Linked DNA regions of Homo sapiens: region 2 is linked to region 1. The links are contacts of gene promoters, found by promoter capture Hi-C in blood cells and fetal thymus (Javierre and others, 2016). All regions are on one chromosome and are shown on one strand. Each heading gives the region's core, a stretch centred on a gene start or on the middle of the fragment in contact. The rest is flanking DNA. Distances are from core to core; before and after follow the strand shown. Region 1 holds the start of MMP16 (matrix metallopeptidase 16). Region 2 has its middle 44 kb from the start of DCAF4L2.

The links. The method cuts DNA at HindIII sites, captures the fragments that hold promoters and counts their contacts. A CHiCAGO score of 5 or more calls a contact.
Region 2: a fragment that was not itself captured here is called in contact with the fragment with the promoter of MMP16 in region 1 in 1 of 17 cell types (endothelial precursors); the score reaches 6.7 in endothelial precursors.

What each region holds. Positions count from the first base shown.
Region 1 is chr8:88,325,541-88,330,101 of GRCh38, reverse strand. MMP16 (matrix metallopeptidase 16) reads left to right here and starts at 2,619. Exons shown (of 10, transcript NM_005941.5): 1 at 2,619-3,027. The coding sequence starts at 2,896. LOC105375630 (a long non-coding RNA gene) reads right to left here and starts at 2,258. Exons shown (of 8, transcript XR_001745653.3): 1 at 2,204-2,258; 2 at 1,005-1,173. The HindIII fragment of the contact is 7,293 bases long and covers 1-4,080 here.
Region 2 is chr8:87,827,883-87,832,443 of GRCh38, reverse strand. No RefSeq gene overlaps it. Among named protein-coding and RNA genes, the nearest start is that of DCAF4L2, 44 kb to the left of the region's middle. The HindIII fragment of the contact is 4,120 bases long and covers 52-4,171 here.

The DNA.
Region 1 (4,561 bases), core at 1,370-3,869:
TCCCTCTCCATACCTGTCCTCCACAAATACACTATTTTTCTTGTCTGAGCACATGCTTTAAAAAAAGAAAGAAAGAAAACCAAGTTGCTTATGGTGAAAAATCCCTCCTTACTGATAGTTTTGCAGTGCTCAACTTGCACTCCATGTCCTTGATACAGTCTTCTAATATTTGGCTCAGTTAGCAAGGACATCACCATTTAGCACTGTTTTCTCATGAACGTCTTTGGTAAATAATTTTTACCTCCTCCTCTTCAATAGTATCTCAAAGACTAGGAACTGAGTTTAAACATTTTTTTTGTATCATTTTCCCTCTCTAATTTTGCACTTTACTAGATATAATGCACACATAAAAATCATTCTTGATTTATTGACAAATACTTCACTACATTTCGTTACCTTATATTGGCACAGAACACCATATAAATTCTATATAATGACATTACTTTCATGTTGCCTTCTAGCTGTTTCTTTTATAAAAAATCATCTCAACCTATGGATTATAAAATTGCTAAGAGCAGGAATGAATTTCCATTTGGAAAGTCACTGGAGTATAGCAGGAAAATCACTGAACTGGGAGTCAGGAAACAAAAGTCTGAACTCTGCCACTTGTATGGTTTGCTGGAACGTTATATTTTATTGCTATCATTTACTTCATCTGTAAAATAAAAACAAAATCCTCAGAGATGGTGTGAGAATTAAATGAGATACTATGTCTGGAAACATTCTGAATATTCTAATGTACTATACAATATAAGACATTGCTTTTTATTACATCTTCAAAATTATTTTGTGGGCAGCACATGCTGGGCACAAGGCAGACTGTCAGGAAGGTCTCCCTGAGAACTTCTTGGGTCTTGGGTCAAGTTGGGTGGGCATTTCTTACATTTTTACAGCAACAGCTGCAAAGTCCCATTCCTCAGCCTTTTTTTCTTTTATTGGATAAAAGTTATTGCAGTCTAATACAATTTTTGGCAAACCATTCTCAGAATTTTCCATCTGCTTACCACATAGGACCTCTTGTAGTCCTGCTTCTTGCCTTTCCAACTCACCCATGAAATTTGCCTTGTCAATTCTCTCTTCCACCTCACCGAGGTAGCTGTCATACCTGGAACACTCTTTATTCTTAACCTCGCCTGCTTTTCTTTCCCGTGGGCTCCTCTTCCCCTCTGCTGGCTGCCAAGGAGAAGCACATTTACTGGCATTAGCCCCCAAACAGATGCTTGCCTCGCTCCCTTCCCCCTTCCTCTTTCAGCCAAACCATCACTTGCCAAGGGCTGGTGGTTGCTGCCCCCCCTGTCCACTGCCTCGCACTGCTACAGCTCCAGTCCTTTCTGGCAGCCTCCTCTGAAGTTCCCTGCCCGCGTTCGCCCGTGCTTCTTGCCAGCCGCCTCCCCCTCTTGCCTGCAGCTCTCCTAGCTCCCGCCAGCCTCTCCCCCGCTCGGTCTGCGAGCAGCCTCTTCCTCCCGCCCTTGCCAGCTGCTTTACTCGCCTTTCCTCAGGCTGCTTCTTCTCCTTCTTTCCCCAACCCTTCCCCTGGCTCCCGCAGCCGGTTTCTTTCCAGCGCCCCCATCCCTCTCATCGGATGTTTTGTTAACACCCAGGACCATCTCTCCCGGGTCCCACTGTGCGCGTGTGTCCACCGTTCACTTGGAAAGTGAGCGTTTTCATCCCGCTTCTGTATTTGTCTAGTCCGCCACCAAAACCCTGTGCCTACTCCTCAAGCCTGGAAGGCGGAATGTAGCTATGGTAGAGGGGATTCAGGAAGACACCAGGCCACAGGCTCGGGACCCCAACAAAGTTTTGGACGTTCGGGATTTGCTATCTCAGTCTTCCCAAACTTGGTCAGCCCCGGCCACCGACCCGAGCCACCCAGGGGCGCTCAGTGACCAGGCGCTCCTCTGATTCCCAGCGCCCCTATTCTTCCAGGGCCGCTTCCTCAGGAATGCCGACCGCTCTCCAGGACCAGGGTTGGGCCGCTCCCCAGGCCCCACTAGGGTCCGCAGCCTGAGCCCCACCCAGCTCATGGCTGGAGAGGGGCGCACTCGTTTTTAGATGCGAGGCGGCAGGGTGGGCGGGAAGAAAGAATGGAGCCGCCCAAGTTCCTGGGTGCCTGCCTCGGGGATGCGGGATGGGAGATACTGTCGAAGAGCTGTGCTCAAACCAGGGCCCTTGTCGCGGGCTGGATACCTCCGGTGCGCCCTACCGTAGTGGGGAATCCTTTATGAGCCGTCTCCTTTAAGAAGCGCGCGTGCGTGTGTGTCGGGCTGTGTGTATGCGCGCGTGTGTGTGTGTGTGTCGCGGTGTGTCTCTGTGTGTGTGTGTGTGTGTGTGTGTGTGCGCGCGCGCGCGCGCGCCAAGGGCCCCGAGAGCCAGGCAGACCCCGGGAAGGAGGAGTTATGTAGATTACGGATGAACATTCTGGAGGGGAGCGAGGAGAGGAGGGAAGGAGAAGCAGAGGCGAGAGAGTGAGGAGCGGCGGAGGCCCTTCCCGCAGGAGCTGGGGGCGGCGGCGGCGGCGGAGGAGGAGGAGGAGTAGGCAGTGCAGGAGGAGGACGCACGGGCTGGAGGCGGCGGCGGCGGCGGCGGCTGCTGCTGCTGCGGCTGCGACTAGGCTCTTTGAGCCGGAACCGCCGGTGAACTTAGGCGCCACGTTCCCGGTGACTGACCCCGGAGGATGGTGAACAGGAACTACTGCTGACCCTGTCTTCGCCGCTGCCTCTCGGGGGCTGCCGAGCGCGGGGCCCCTGTCTCCTCCCCTTGCCCGGCTGTGGGTGAACCTGCAGGCTCCTTACCCACCCGGAGGACTTTTTTTTGAAAGGAAACGAGGGAGGGAGGGAGAGGGAGAGAGGGAGAAAACGAAGGGGAGCTCGTCCATCCATTGAAGCACAGTTCACTATGATCTTACTCACATTCAGCACTGGAAGACGGTTGGATTTCGTGCATCATTCGGGGGTGTTTTTCTTGCAAACCTTGCTTTGGATTTTATGTGCTACAGTCTGCGGAACGGAGCAGTATTTCAATGTGGAGGTAAGAGTGCGAGGGCTTTCTTCCTCCCCCCGCTGCCTGGGCTGCTCCCTGAAACATTTCCTTCACTCCTGGGATCCTTGTAGCTCAGAGCAGCCTGGGTCCCAGCACGTTGTTTCCCTTCCAGCTGTGGAGACCCTGGTTCAGTTTAAGGGTGTTTTAGGTGACGGATGCGTGTGAGACCCAGAATCCGTTATCCCCGGCAGCACAAAGCACGATGCTGCGCGCTCAAAGACACAATTGTAGCCGGTCCATGCTTTTCACCCAGGGAAGAGAAGTCCTACATATAGCAACCGTGTAGCTAAATAAGGCAGCTTGAGTTTATGATGGATAAACAGCTCGGGGAAGACAGAATTAATTCCCTGGCATCATGTGCTGCCTAGGTATTGTTCCTGAAATCTTTCTCCCAGTGTTTGGTGCCTAACAAAGGAGGTTAAAAATCAAAGAATCTAGAGGAGAGCGTGGGAACACTAGATGTGTTTAATAACATTACTTTGTGATAAAACACTTGAGAATCTTTTTTTTTTTCATTTAGACATAACTTAATACACTGTAACTAGATCTGGCTACACAGAGGACATGAAATCCATCTCTTTTTAAGTGTCTTCTTTCCCCCTCCCCCGCCAATTGAAAATAAACGTGGCCCAATGTAATAGTTTTGAGGTGTGTTTTTAATTTGATTTCACACTCTCGTGGCAAAACGGGGAGGTTTTAGACTGTCATTTGCTTTACTTTGATAGCTTTGGGAACAGACGGCACAAAGCAAAAGGGAACTTAAGGATAGGGACTTGTCAGACCTCTGCCAAAGTACTCTTCCTGTCATCAAGTCAGCACTGAAGCCAGTAATGTGCAATAAATCAATGAAAGCGTGTATACACCTGGGCTGTAACACAACTTTATCACATATACGGTGGGATACAAAGCCAGTAAGAGGGTCTTAGTAACATTTACTTCTTTTGATTAGATCTGATGTCCTCTGAACTCTCAAACGAATTATGAATAATTTTTTAAGGAATAATGTGATTTTTTTTCTTATATTGTTGATATTATGAAGCTTATTGTCATTTTGCTGGGAGTGTGTGTTTACACAATAGCAAGACCTGTTGCACAGTATTTGAACATGCTTCATGTAACCAATTGATACACAGAGTGTGCATAATAAATGCCATGTGTAAAGGCATATTCTGAATATAACTGTGTTTATAGAAACTGTTCTTAGGACTTCATGTAATAAGTCATGGTTAGTACAAAAAAAGTATTTGAAAAAGTAAGAGCTATTATCAAGAGTTAAAGACCTTCACAGATATTAAGTATGAATAAATTACACAAAAAAAACCCAATTTGAAAACTAAAAAGGTTTAACCCTTTGAAAAATACAACTTTATTTTTCTAGATAAAAAGAGAAAGGGGCTTGAAAGTCCAGACTTTTTTTATTGCAAATTTGAACTTTTGGAATTACGTGCCACAGATGGATTTTTGTACCTAACATTTAAATCAAGAGATAATTTAATGTTGAAATGAAGGATTAGTTCATAGG
Region 2 (4,561 bases), core at 862-3,361, 500 kb after region 1:
TGCGTAATTCCTTTATGCATTTCTTCTTAAAACTAAACAGAGTGTTAAGCTTTCTTAGAAGAAGATGCTAGAGGGACATTGCATGAAAAAAGCCTTTGCTTATGGTGTCTTGATGCAATATGGTTGGCTGGTGGTGTGGGTGCGGGGACATCTAGTGGAGTTCCGCCATAGCCACACGGCCAGAATACACATTGACCTTGCAGCCCCAGAGTATCCTAGGGATCTCCCTTTTCAGCCCTTCCCATATGGACATCCTGTTCTCTAGGTTTCCAGCCAAGTTGGAGCCTCCACTCCACTGACACTTCAATCACCAGCTGTGACTCCTCCATCTTTCCTGCTTCCTGGAGTGTTGCTTGCTTTCTGTTCCATAACAACAGATCAGCTATAGTCTGGTGTATTAGTCTGTTCTCACATTGCTATAAAGAACTACCTGAAACTGGGTAATTTATACAGAAAAGAGGTTTAATTGATTCACAGTTCTGCAGGCTGTACAGGAAACATGGCTGAGGAGGCCTCAGGAAACTTACAATTATGGTGGAAGGCAAAGGGGAAGCAGGCACATCTTATGTGGCTGGAGAAGGTGGAAAGTGAGAAGGGGGAAGTGTTACACACTTTTAAACAACCAGATCTTGTGAGAACTCACTATCATGAGAACAGCAAGAGGGAAGTTCACCTTCACCTCCATGATCCAGTCACCTCCTACCAGACCTCTCCTTCAACATTGTGAATTAAAATTCAACAAGAGATTTAGGTGGGGACACAAATCCAAACCACATCATCTGGCAAACTAGCAAACTGCTGCTATCCAGTGGGTTCAACCTTATTCTGTACCCTAGTCTTATGGAGGGATCCTCTTTCCATGTTCATCCTTCCTTATGTACTCTCCCTCAGCCCTAGGATACCATACAGAGTTTCATTATATCTCCAGTTACTCTTTTTTTTTTTTTAAGATGGAATCTTGCTCTTGTCCCCCAGGCTGGAGTGCGATGGTGCGATCTCGGCTCACTACAACCTCTGCCTCCTGGGTTCAAGCAATTCTCCTGCCTCAGCCTCCCAAGTAGCTGGGATTACAGGCACCTGACACCATGCCTGACTAATGTTTGTATTTTTAGTAGAGATGGGGTTTCGCCATGTTGGCCAGGCTGGTCTCGAACTCCTGACCTCAGGTGATCCACCCGCCTTGGCTTCCCAAAGTGCTGGGATTACAGGCGTGAGCCACCACGCCTGGCTCCAGTTACTCTTTTATCACTTTAGTTATGATTCATATTAACCTTCCCCTAATTAAATCACTGAATGGTTCTAGAGCTGATTGGATCCAGACTACTATTATATTTTTTTACCATTTAATTTTCCCCCTAAACTATAGATTCTCACTGGGAGACTTGGGCATATGCCCAATTCTTTTAAAAGCATCATTGGATAAGGATTAAGAGGTGGATGTCCGTAATCTCCCTGGCTTTAAGGTATGACTTGGGAGGAGATGGCCAGAGCTTTCAACAAATTGTCAAAGATCTCAGTGATCAAGGAAAAAAATGGAGGATAATTTTTCTAGTTTAGAAAGTGAGTACCAAACCTGGTTGCATTTTAGAATTACTATGGAGCTTTTAAATATACCACTGCCTGGGCCCCACCCCAGACTAATTAAATCAAAAGTTCTAGGAGTGAGACACAGGCATTGGTATTTTTCAGCATGCCCCAGCTGATTCTGATGTGCAGTTGGAATTGAGAACCACTGCTCAAGGGGCTTGCTGCCATTTTGGTTTCTTGTGCTTTTCATGCCCTCTTCATCATTGCTTTATTATTCTTGCTTATAATAGAAGACTATTGGATGGAAAGTAGAGATCAAAAGTGCTCTTCTAGCAATTTAATACCCAAATTTTTAACTCATTTTCCACATAAAATGACCTTACATTAACAGTGACTCTTAGGAAGAGTAGCACGTGTGAGTTACGATCAAGAAATTAAATTTGCCCATTTCTTTTTGGTAGAGGTCAAAAAGCCCTACAGCAGGTAGATAGTGCACTCACAAGCATGACAGAAAAATTCTCAAGATAAAATGACCTTTCAAGTGGTAGAAAATGTTCTTTTAGAGAAAATTTCTTCAATACTGTTTAGAGGGCTCATTTAGAAAATGCCACCTAACCACTGAGTAAAGGCATGTTCTGAACAAAACGATTTTATATTTAGTTTGAACTTTATACAAGCAATTTGCTGTTCCTTATATAGCATGCAGTGACAAGAAAAGAGAGATTAACACCATTCTTTCTAAGCATTGAAGTTAAAAACTGACTAAATATGCCAAATCTAAGTGTCAATTTATTTTTTCAAATGGTGTCATGATGTTTCTTTATTTCTCCTGCAAAGAGATTAAAATGTGTTTTTATAGAAAACCTTAAACATGATGCAGCACAAATGTCATATAACGGAACAAATAAAATATATTGTTATATGTATCCTATATTCTTTCTTGGTTTTCTATAGATTTTCTTAACAAAGTCTTGTAAGTGATATGTGGATTGGCTGGGCTTCTGTATATTTGTATTGCTAATCTTAATAAGTAAAGAAGTCATGTTCTTGACTTCCAGCTAATTCCTTCATCTTGTCTGACAAAATCTTGGTTAAACAAATGGTTCTTTTGTTATGGATCTGAAGGTCAGCAGTATATTCGGCCAGACTAAACTAGGAAATTATTTCAAAATGTATGATTGATTGTGGAAGACCCTTTGCACCTGTACTCTGAACTTAATGCTGATATCTAAAATCTGAGAAGTTTGGCTGATGAGAAATGAATTGGGATCAAGAATAGAGGTTATGTTGACATAAGTGAAACCTCAACTCTATGAATTCTTCCTGATTTATGACAATTATTTTCCTTTGTGGACTATGGAGTCTATATCTTAAGAAGACATATTAATGGGATTTGAAGGCAAGTAATGGGGTAACAAAGTTAAAGGGAAAATTAGAAGAATGTAGCTTTTGATTGACTTTACTGATTAAACTAGACTTAACATACATAACAAAATAGACAAAAACATACTCTAAAATTTGGATTCTCTGATATATAGGAATGAGAAAAACTTAAAGGAGCTAAGATAAATTCTTTAAGAGTGTCTATGAAAACTCACAATAGGCTTTTTTTTTTTGTAAAAAAGAATAAATTTGCTCAGTTTTAAAGTGTATAAAATTGGTTAGTACAATTTTGCTGAAAATTAAATATGAGATATTGAGATTAGATATCAAGAGACTTTTTTGGCAAGATAGCTTATTAGTTGGTTTCCTAGGCTGCCATAACAAAATACCGCAAACTGGGGGGCTTAAAACAATAAAAAATTATTTACCCACAATTCTGGAGGTTAGAAATCCAAGATTAAAGTGTCAGCATGTTTGGTTCCCTCTCGGTGCTCTGAAGGAGAATGTTCCATGCCCTTCTCCAAGATATGAGTGGTTGCCAGCAATCCTTCGTATTCCTTTGCTCATAGATGTATCACTCCAATCTGTGCCTTGATCATCATATGGCATTCTTATGTGTCTCTGTGTCCAAATTTCTCTATTCTTTTAAGGATGCTGGTCACTGGATTGGGTCCTAACCTAAACTAACATGACTTCTTCTTAACTTGGTTACATTTGTAAAGACTCTGTTTCCAAATGAGGTCACAATCATAGATACCAGCTGTTAGGGCTTGAACGTATCTTTTTGGAGGATGCAATTCCACCGAATGCACATAGTATTTCAAGAATGTTTGGAATATTCTTTTGGAGATTTTTGGTTATGCAAAGACCTTAGAGCATTTTAACATTTTTAGCCCCTCAAATTATGATTTTTACTGTGTATTATAATACTCAATGTATTTTTTAAGCCCCATAAGACATTCTTATTTATACAGTCAGTATTCATCTAAATTCATTCATATAATAATCTTTTTCTTTCCTCTTGGTTACTTCCTGAATCTTCCATGTATATTTCTATGTGTGTGCATTGGCAGGAATAATGAAGGACAGCATGTGTGGATGTTTATGGGAAACCTACGTGTAATCTTTCTTGTCAAAGAGATAATAAAATGGACCAAGTACCCTTTTAATATCTCCTCTAAGAACATGGTTCTATGATAAATTCATTTAATGACTTCAAATATTTAGAGGTCCTTTTCCCCAAGACAATGTTTTTCAAGCTTTCAGCTTGCAAAATGTTGCAACTTTAATTTTGCTGTGATGCGTAAAATGCATCTTTCATCATTGTTGCAGTGAAATGAGAATTTGGAGATTAAAAAGTCAGAGAATCTAAGATCTACTGTCTTTATGTGTGTGTAAAAATAGGCACTTACAGCCTCATTTTTGGGAGTTGATTTTATAACTATGTTGGGGGCCATTTGGTAGTATGTATTGGTAATTTGAGAAAAGGAATGTATATATATATATATATTTGTATTTTCTAATTAATAAATATGTGCATGAAATGTATATATAAATGATTTACTGGAGATTATTGATAATAGTAAAAACTGGAAACAATTTAAAGATCTGTAGGGGAAAATCTGTGATCAATGGAAAATTATGTATTTTT